2 separate regions of the Homo sapiens genome follow, and region 1 is linked to region 2. Evidence: promoter capture Hi-C in 16 types of primary human blood cells and fetal thymus (Javierre and others, 2016). All regions are on one chromosome and are shown on one strand. The core of a region is centred on a gene start or on the middle of the fragment in contact, and the rest is flanking DNA. Distances in the headings are between cores, read along the strand shown. Region 1 overlaps SLC22A5 (solute carrier family 22 member 5). Region 2 holds the start of GDF9 (growth differentiation factor 9).

What was found. The method cuts DNA at HindIII sites, captures the fragments that hold promoters and counts their contacts. A CHiCAGO score of 5 or more calls a contact.
Region 1: a contact is called between a fragment that was not itself captured here and the fragment with the promoter of GDF9 in region 2, in 2 of 17 cell types (total B cells and naive B cells). The highest score is 7.3, in total B cells.

The regions. Positions count from the first base shown.
Region 1 is chr5:132,391,663-132,396,857 of GRCh38, forward strand. SLC22A5 (solute carrier family 22 member 5) reads left to right here. Exons shown (of 10, transcript NM_003060.4): 8 at 771-953; 9 at 2,014-2,149; 10 at 2,523-3,950. The coding sequence ends at 2,610. Among named protein-coding and RNA genes, the nearest start is that of CARINH, 17 kb to the right of the region's middle. The HindIII fragment of the contact is 5,582 bases long and covers 1-4,352 here.
Region 2 is chr5:132,863,984-132,868,642 of GRCh38, forward strand. It overlaps GDF9 (growth differentiation factor 9), which reads right to left and starts at 2,486. Exons shown (of 2, transcript NM_005260.7): 1 at 154-2,486. The coding sequence starts at 550. It overlaps UQCRQ (ubiquinol-cytochrome c reductase complex III subunit VII), which reads left to right and starts at 2,659. Exons shown (of 3, transcript NM_014402.5): 1 at 2,659-2,704; 2 at 2,886-3,052; 3 at 3,505-4,659. The coding sequence starts at 2,899. The coding sequence ends at 3,599. RefSeq lists enhancers at 1,938-3,137, 1,996-2,496, 2,497-2,997. The HindIII fragment of the contact is 4,688 bases long and covers 1-4,545 here.

The sequences.
Region 1 (5,195 bases), core at 312-2,811, 470 kb before region 2:
GGATTTTATTTCTGAAACTATCTTAGTATCCCACAGATGGGTGGGAGGTAGCCATTTCCAATAATTTATAGAACAGTTCATGGGCCCTCATCTCTCCCTCTCCATCACTGTGCCCAGAGACTTCAGTGTACCTGTAGATTTGGGAGCCTCTGATGGTCACTTTTGGGCCCATCAGGCTGAGAACACTGCACGGGAACAGCTCCCCATGGGATGTGGCAGGAGGAGCCCAGAACTGATGTAGAGGCTCACAGCTGAGCTCAGAGTGACCTTCAGGTCACACATAGCTCTCCCATCAGCACAGCACAGAGAGATTAGAAGATCAACTTGAGATTCTGATGGCCTATGATTTTTTTGAGGTCTGAGTGGGAGGAAAGCATGAAATGAGTTAGAACTGAATTCTCCATTCATCTAAACATCATGAGTTAATTCCATAGTGCCTGCAGTGTGAGGTTCTGGGGTGACAGTTAATCCCTGACAGACATGTCTTTAATGACTTATAGACTGGGAAGCAGGTTGATTGGACTATTAAGGAGCTTACTCTGGTGGTCTCCAGGTTGAGGAAAGTGCATGTCCTTATAGCTGCAGGTCCCAGCCTCCTTTCAGCAATCAATTTGGAGGGAAATCTTGGCTATAGCCCCTTCCCCCACAATAGGAAGTGATAGAAACTGACTCCCCAAAAAATTTGGGAAGAAAGTATGTTTGTTTTGCTCTCAATAGCTGCATGCCATGGGTTGGTACCTACTCCTACCCTCTTTCCTTTGCTTCTCCAGACTTGTATTATTTGGCTACAGTCCTGGTGATGGTGGGCAAGTTTGGAGTCACGGCTGCCTTTTCCATGGTCTACGTGTACACAGCCGAGCTGTATCCCACAGTGGTGAGAAACATGGGTGTGGGAGTCAGCTCCACAGCATCCCGCCTGGGCAGCATCCTGTCTCCCTACTTCGTTTACCTTGGTAAGTCCCATGAGCCAAGGGCACACTAGAGCAACGGGATGGAAGTACTAACTGGCTTGAATGTGAGCTGGAGGTTGCGTGTTAACAGGAAAACAAGTTCATACAGTACATGGGCTCCATCCAGTACTGGATCTTTGGCCGGGAAGGGTTCTTGTCCCAGTGCACTGGCCCTCACTTTCAAATGGAAAACAACCTATAGATTACCTAGAAATTGATGAGAATATTAGAGGGTTTGTTTCTGTTTTAGCCATCCCAGGCCTTCCATCAGAGACTACAATTCCTTTATCCTAAGAACCTACAGAGTGGTTTAGGGAGCCAGTGTGCTTAGTTGGAGAAATTTCTTGGAATCAGAGTTTAAAAGGAACATGAGGGGAAAGATGTCCATGCAAGAGGTCTGATGAACGGAAAATTATTATAACCTAGAGCACTATAGAGTGATTTTATCTTGTGTGAAGATCCACCCCATGCCATTTTATGTAGCAGGTCTCCAGTTTTCTCTTCTCAGAATTATGTCTTCATAGCACCTGTGGTTTCCTGCACATCCCTAGCCAGTACCTCTTTAGGGAGGGTGGCACCCACCTGAGAGTACTCAGAGTGCTTTGTGAACATGCTATGTAGATCTCAAAGCAAGCAAAAGCACCCTGCCTAATCTGAAGGCAGATCACATGGGCTGGGACACATCTGCAGAGGTGGAAGAGTTATTTCCATCCCTGGACAAGTACCTCAGGTTCCTTGGAAACCCAACCTTGGTAAATAAGAATAATCAGCATGGCCCAGAAATAGGAATAATCAGCATGGCCCAGCTCTTCTACTGCAACCGCCCCTTTGTACTCCTCCCCTGCATGGTGGAACACTGCTGGGCTCTGGGCATGCCTGTGCCAGCTCTGGGTTCTGAAACCTGTCTAGATGCCAGATTCTAATCTGACTGCTCAGACTGTGAGAGATGTGAGACCAAGAAGGAAAGTGATCCCCTTCCAGAGTCCTGGGAGCATAAAGGGGTAGATGAGAGACCAAGTCTAACTGCAGCCCTGGGCCTGAGGCTCCGTCTGCTTTGCCATAGGTGCCTACGACCGCTTCCTGCCCTACATTCTCATGGGAAGTCTGACCATCCTGACAGCCATCCTCACCTTGTTTCTCCCAGAGAGCTTCGGTACCCCACTCCCAGACACCATTGACCAGATGCTAAGAGTCAAAGGGTAAGAAGACCTCCTCTGTCAGTGTTGATGCACTGGGTCTGGGTCTGGCCAGGTCTCAGGAGCCCCTCACAATAGAGCTACTCGCAAACTCCCTCTCACAGACACCATGGACTAGTTTAGCCATTAAAGGGTTGTAAATGGCAAGGTGCTTACTTATAGCCCATCCTCTCTGGTCTGTTCCTGTGTGGACATGTCACTATACACATCTCCATGGCAGTAGCCGCACTGGATAACTCAGAGGCTAGAAGAAACCTTTCAGAATCTGCTGCAGGATTCTCTTCCCAGGGAAGATATCCTCAGTTCTTGTTTGTTTGGAGACTGGGAGGCATCTTTTTAAAATGTGTTACTGACATATTTTTGCTTGTTTTTATAGAATGAAACACAGAAAAACTCCAAGTCACACAAGGATGTTAAAAGATGGTCAAGAAAGGCCCACAATCCTTAAAAGCACAGCCTTCTAACATCGCTTCCAGTAAGGGAGAAACTGAAGAGGAAAGACTGTCTTGCCAGAAATGGCCAGCTTGTGCAGACTCCGAGTCCTTCAGTGACAAAAGGCCTTTGCTGTTTGTCCTCTTGACCTGTGTCTGACTTGCTCCTGGATGGGCACCCACACTCAGAGGCTACATATGGCCCTAGAGCACCACCTTCCTCTAGGGACACTGGGGCTACCTACAGACAACTTCATCTAAGTCCTAACTATTACAATGATGGACTCAGCACCTCCAAAGCAGTTAATTTTTCACTAGAACCAGTGAGATCTGGAGGAATGTGAGAAGCATATGCTAAATGTACATTTTAATTTTAGACTACTTGAAAAGGCCCCTAATAAGGCTAGAGGTCTAAGTCCCCCACCCCTTTCCCCACTCCCCTCTAGTGGTGAACTTTAGAGGAAAAGGAAGTAATTGCACAAGGAGTTTGATTCTTACCTTTTCTCAGTTACAGAGGACATTAACTGGATCATTGCTTCCCCAGGGCAGGAGAGCGCAGAGCTAGGGAAAGTGAAAGGTAATGAAGATGGAGCAGAATGAGCAGATGCAGATCACCAGCAAAGTGCACTGATGTGTGAGCTCTTAAGACCACTCAGCATGACGACTGAGTAGACTTGTTTACATCTGATCAAAGCACTGGGCTTGTCCAGGCTCATAATAAATGCTCCATTGAATCTACTATTCTTGTTTTCCACTGCTGTGGAAACCTCCTTGCTACTATAGCGTCTTATGTATGGTTTAAAGGAAATTTATCAGGTGAGAGAGATGAGCAACGTTGTCTTTTCTCTCAAAGCTGTAATGTGGGTTTTGTTTTATTGTTTATTTGTTTGTTGTTGTATCCTTTTCTCCTTGTTATTTGCCCTTCAGAATGCACTTGGGAAAGGCTGGTTCCTTAGCCTCCTGGTTTGTGTCTTTTTTTTTTTTTTTTTAAAACAGAATCACTCTGGCAATTGTCTGCAGCTGCCACTGGTGCAAGGCCTTACCAGCCCTAGCCTCTAGCACTTCTCTAAGTGCCAAAAACAGTGTCATTGTGTGTGTTCCTTTCTTGATACTTAGTCATGGGAGGATATTACAAAAAAGAAATTTAAATTGTGTTCATAGTCTTTCAGAGTAGCTCACTTTAGTCCTGTAACTTTATTGGGTGATATTTTGTGTTCAGTGTAATTGTCTTCTCTTTGCTGATTATGTTACCATGGTACTCCTAAAGCATATGCCTCACCTGGTTAAAAAAGAACAAACATGTTTTTGTGAAAGCTACTGAAGTGCCTTGGGAAATGAGAAAGTTTTAATAAGTAAAATGATTTTTTAAATAACAGCAACTGCCTAGAATCTTTATTTCTAGAATTTAGTGAGCCTGTGCCACACTGTCATCTGCCTTTTCTCTGTATCAGCTTGGGCTAATTCTAGCAATGGTTGGGATTAATCTCTAAGACTAAGATTTGATTCTTGTGCACTAGAATTCTTCACTTTATTAATTGACTATGGGCTGAGCCAGCCTTCTTGCACAAATGTATCTTGGGTTCCCTTGAAAGTAGAGACTGAGACAAGTGCTTCTGTGCAGTTAAGCAGTTTATGCTTTGGGGACAAGATTCCAGGGAGCAGCAATAAAGGACAGGAGGAGAACAGGGAAGGAGGGAGGCTGAATACAAAGATGCATTTTCAGGTTGACTAGCACCAAAGGCAGGGATGCTCCATCCAGCAAGGACTTCAGAAGAAGCTTATGAAATGCATCTCAACACCATCTGTACCTTGAGTAAAAGGGGGAAGCATTTCTCTGTTGGCATCCATTTGTAAAGGCAGCCCACAGGTGTCAGCTCCACATGTTTCCAGGCTGCACATGCATGAGTCCCAAATAAGTTCTGTCCCGTGGGTAGAAAGCAAGAGAGAATACATTGCAGGGCTGAAGTAGGGGTTGCCAGAGCCCATCAGAACTGGTCACTGCAACAGTGGCTGGAGTAAGTGGTGGGCTGAGAGGATTGGGGGTTGAGTGTGGTGCACAAGAGGTGTCTTAATCTATATACAATTTGCACAGGGCATTTTGGGCTAGAAGGTGTGGATGGACCTGGGTAAAAAGCTCCAGTGTTGGATAGAAACTCAAGGGCATGTTGCATAACAAAACAAGCAGCATCAAACTTGGGGGAGAAGGAAGGCAGCACGTCTTCTGGAACACTGTTGGCTTCTCCACTCTCCTCAAACATGGTTCTGTGCTGGACTACTGATTAACTGTCTTCCCAGGGGCTCTAGAATCTGAATTGCAGTTCTGTCTACCCATTGTCCTGTAGCAGGAGTGAATAGTTTCTGCATTTTCTCTCTTATTCTCCATGCCACTGATTCCAGTCATTTGTGGCCTTCTGAGGGCAAAAACCATAATTACCTGAATGCTTAGAGCTCTTCATGTGGTGAGGCAAGAGCCCAAGTCACTTCCAGGGTTGAGCCAAGCATGTGGAATTCCAAGTCCTCTGTCTAAGCCTGTTGGATTCGTGTGTGGCTTGTTTCCCTTAGAGCCATGACTTTGGGAAGACTGAGTGTGTTATCAGACCAAGGATCTCCTCTGCTCC
Region 2 (4,659 bases), core at 1,236-3,735:
AGCTCAAGTCCCAGATTTGTTTCAACTGGATATTGAGTTTTATGCAAAATAAAATACAATTCAAGGAACTAGGCTCAGCTCCTTTCTGTAATTGAAATGCAGAAGTGTCTATCATCTTCCCTCCACCCAGTTAACCAATCTGCTTTCACATACCTGTTACCTGGTCTCCAGGAGCCTGCTTGTGCCGGGTACAGGGGGTGAAGAGCCGAACAGTGTTGTAGAGGTGACTTCTATTGGATTTAGGAATCCCTTCCTTGGTAGCATATGTCTTATAGAGCTTCTTCATGTAGTGCAAAGCTCTGGAGTCTGGCTGCAGCCTAGGTGACCCACCTCGCCCAACAGATAGAACTTTGAAAAGCGCGGGAAGGAGGCCAGCTCTGTCTCTCTCATCTATATGCTGCAGCAAGGACCAAGGCATAGCCCCAGATTCCAACTCAGCACTAGCAGCAATCTGAGCTTCTCCCCCAGAAGCCTGAGAACCAAGGCTAATAGGAAAACACAGCCAGGCAAAGCAGCAAAACCAAAGGAGGAATTTGTTGGGACGTGCCATGGCTTGGGAGAACTAGTGAGGAACATATTTCTCCATGCCAGTCCTCTTCCTAAAGGCCAGGAAGAGCCTAGCTTGGTCTCTTAAATAAATTTCAGGTGTGTGGGTGGACTACGGTCACTTCTGTAATCAGGCCTCAAGTATGCCTAGCTGAAGATTTTATCAGCTCTATATCAAGCAGCTGATAACACCTTATTTAGCCAATTTGTTAATTAGATACAGATTTACTTGGTTATTTAGCTTTCCTCTCTTTTCCCCTGGCATTTACGTAAAACCCGTTACTGTTACACTACCGGACTAACTATGTAGCTGAAAGTCTAAGATAAATTGAGGAATGATCTTAAATAAAATCTCTCATTTTTTGAGAAATTTGGATTAAGATGTTCGCTAGGTGCTTGCTGAAACTTCTAAGGCATGTGGAAAAGCTAACCAATTATTCATGACGATACTCAGATCTGCTGGTATGCAACTTATGGTATTAGGTTTACTCTTCCTCTCAATTTATCCTCACGGCCTTTTCCACTTCCAGGTGTTTACAATTGTAATTATTCGCTGCATGTTAATTTGCGAATTTACAAATTTGGGTGAGAAAGTCACAATTGGCATAGAAGTTCCAGAAAGCAGAAAACCATTAGGTCTCTCAGTCCTCCCAGGTGGCTGGGTACAGAATACGTACTTGGAGTACTGGAATTGTATTTGCGATGTTCTTAAAAGAGGACACCGCCTTTAACCTTGACTTATTTTTAAATGTAACATACTGATGTCCTTACTTTGGTCTGCACACTCATCTATACATATTTTGGTTGAAAGGTTTTGGGATGTTTGCAGATGCTATAAAATAAATGAACGTTTTATTATTATTCATCCAAATGGTGGTAGAATTTGCCACAATATTTCTGTCCTTACCTGTATTTCTGTTCTTGCCTTGGAGCTGAGACCAGGCTAGACATTATGGTTTAAAAAAATGAGGCAAAGGAGCACCATGAAAAGCTGAAATGAGGGGATATTCAGCGCCACCCCGAAGGAGACTATGCTGGAAGAGTCAGCCTACACTCATAGTGCAAGATACGAAGCCAGTTTGTGCAGTACCTACATGAGAAAACTAAGGTATGTCTGCAAAATACAAGTTGACTGCCTGCCGAGCCTCCGTGGTCCGTAAGTAGTGTTATAAAACACAGCCAACTGTTGAATGAGAGCTTAGTCCTAGATAAAATATGGCCAGCAATTCCATTAACAAAACACTGACAAGACACCTCAGGGCGAGCTGTACATTGACAACAGCATCGTCAAGCAGAATGCACTTCAGGGAAAACATAATAAGGCCTCTCACCCGACTTTCCTTGCTTCTCACGTGGGGAGAAGAAAGAACTGGGGCATCGTGATTCCCCCCACCCCACGCAAACCATCTGGGGAGGACGCTGGCTGCTGTCGAGGCGGCCTCAGCATTCATCAATTGACGATTATTTGATTATTTTTGTGGCTGAAACTGACGAAACGTTTGTATTATCTCTTGGGAACGTTAACAGCCTGCCAGGGGACTCTAAAACAGAGTCCAAGAGAAGCCTTCGATGTGTGTCCCTGATTTTGGTGCTGGGGTCGCTCATGGCCTGAAAATAACGAAGCCCCCTTTGAGCTACTGGCCAAGGCCAAATGAAACCTCGTGCTCCTCTGCTGTGGGGCGGCCCGGCCTCGGGGCTCAGAGGCGCTCTGTCTACAGCTGGGAAGACTCGCAGGCCCCAAGCTCCTGGCCAGCGCTGCCCCGGAGGTCGGCAGGCCCCTTCCTCGTCACCTTTTTGTTCCCTCCCCCGCCTCCCGCATTCGGCCGCTTCCTGACTGGGATTCCACAGAAAAGCCGAGGGCTGAGGAGAAGTGTGAGCGCCTCCGCCTGTCCACTGTCCCCCAAAGTCAGTTCAATCCCCGACGTCCTCCGCTAGGCTCCACCCCACCGGCCCGGGCAGGGCCTCCAAGGCACCTCCCACCTACGGGTCACCCAGTCAGCCCACTTCTTTCTGGGACAAAGGCGTCATCCCTTAGAGACAGTAGGAAAATGGTATCTCCCGGAAGTTACCTCACGACCTCCAAGAGCGGCTTCCAACCTTGCCGGAAATGACGAACGAGTCAACCGGATCGGTGACTGTGGAGGGCGAGCTGAGCCCTGTGCGTGAGTGGGGTCTGGTTGTGCAGTGTTCGTGGACCCTGGGAGGCTAGGGGCGCCCCGCTGGGCTGGGAAAGGATAAGGAGTGCAGGGGCAGGAGTCTGGGGTTGGGGATGGACCCCCGCGGGGACTGCGGCGCTTCGCGAAAGCGAGCCAAGCGCCTGTCCACCCTCGGTCCTGCAGGGCCGCCGCCACAATGGGCCGCGAGTTTGGGAATCTGACGCGGATGCGGCATGTGATCAGCTACAGCTTGTCACCGTTCGAGCAGCGCGCCTATCCGCACGTCTTCACTAAAGGAATCCCCAATGTTCTGCGCCGCATTCGGGAGTCTTTCTTTCGCGTGGTGCCGCGTGAGTGCCTTGGGCCCGCGGGAGCGGGAGGCTGGACCCCAGCAGCAGCAGCAGTCACTGCGCCTCCCCTCTGAGCGCTGGCGGCCGGGCAGGCGCTCTGTAACTTGCCGTACACACCTTTCTCATTGAATATTCCTGACCGCCCTTAAGCTGGTCATATTATCCTCCCCATCTTACACGGGGAAAACTGAGCTACAGAACTGAAATGACTGGCCCAAGGTCACTCGGGTGATTCCAGCATGTTCCTCTGAGGTCACCTTTATTTAGTTCTTACCAGTGGTGAAATGCTTTGTGTTAAACGTGCAGCAGATAGTGATGATAGTTGCATGGCCTTGGATATGCTAAGAACTACTGAAGTGTATGCTTTAAAGAAGACAAGAGGACTGAGACCTTTTTTTTTCTTCTATATGTCTTATATGTGTGCTCTCTGTTTACTCTCTTAATTTTTAAAGAGTTTGTAGTGTTTTATCTTATCTACACATGGGGGACTGAAGAGTTCGAGAGATCCAAGAGGAAGAATCCAGCTGCCTATGAAAATGACAAATGAGCAACGCATCCGGATGACGGTTCCCTGTCTCTGAAAGACCTTTCTCTGGAAGAGGAGTCTGCATTGTAGTGTCTCAAAGACACAATAAACTTCCTATGGTCTGCACTGTTGTGATATTACATTTTTGTGAGTAGAATCCTGTGTGACCACTAATATTCAAGTTCATGAAGCGCCCCTCCTCAGCATGAGTCTTGAAGTTTTGCCTGGTCTCGGGTTTTGGTGAAAGAGCAGGGCTCCCCCTTTGTTCCATTATCTACAAGAAAGTAGCTGCAGGTACTCCTGCATCTAACCATTTGTGGGTGACATGGGCTATGGCGAGTGCTGGTTCTTGGCCCTCTGCTCCCATAGCAACAATAAAGTCTACTAACTATATTGTAATTAGTATGTGTCAGGGACGCTTTTATTTTTTATTTTTTGAGATGGAGTCTTGCTCTCTCACCCAGGCTGGAGTGCAGTGGTGTGATCTCGGCTCACTGCCATCTGTGCCTCCTGGGTTCAAACGATTCTCCTGTCTCAGCCTCCGAGTAGCTGGGATTACAGGTGCAGGACACCACACCTGGCTAATTTTTTGTATTTTTAGTAGAGACAGGTTTCACCATGTTGGCCAGGCTGGTCTGGAACTCCTGACCTCAGATGATCTGTGCGCCTCAGCCTCCCAAAGTGCTGGGATTACAGGCGTAAGCCATGGTGCTCTGGGCCTCAAATACTCTTCTTAGCTACACAAATGAACTGTTAAACCTCACAAGCACCTTTAACGTATCCTCATTTGGCAGATGAGGAAATGGGCACAGAGAGATTAAGTAATTTGCCAGAAATTATACAGCAGTGAATGGTGGAGTCTTGCACTAAAGTGATGCTCTTAAAACTATGCTCTATTGCAGGGGTGTCCAATCTTTTAGCTTCCCTGGGCCACACATAAAATACGCTAACATTACAATAGCTGATAAGCTTTAAAAAATGGCAAAAAAAACCCTCAGCGTTTTAGAAAGTTTACAAATTTTTGTTGGGTCGGATTCAAAGCCATCCTGGGCTGCTTGCTGCCCAGGACTGCGGTTGGACA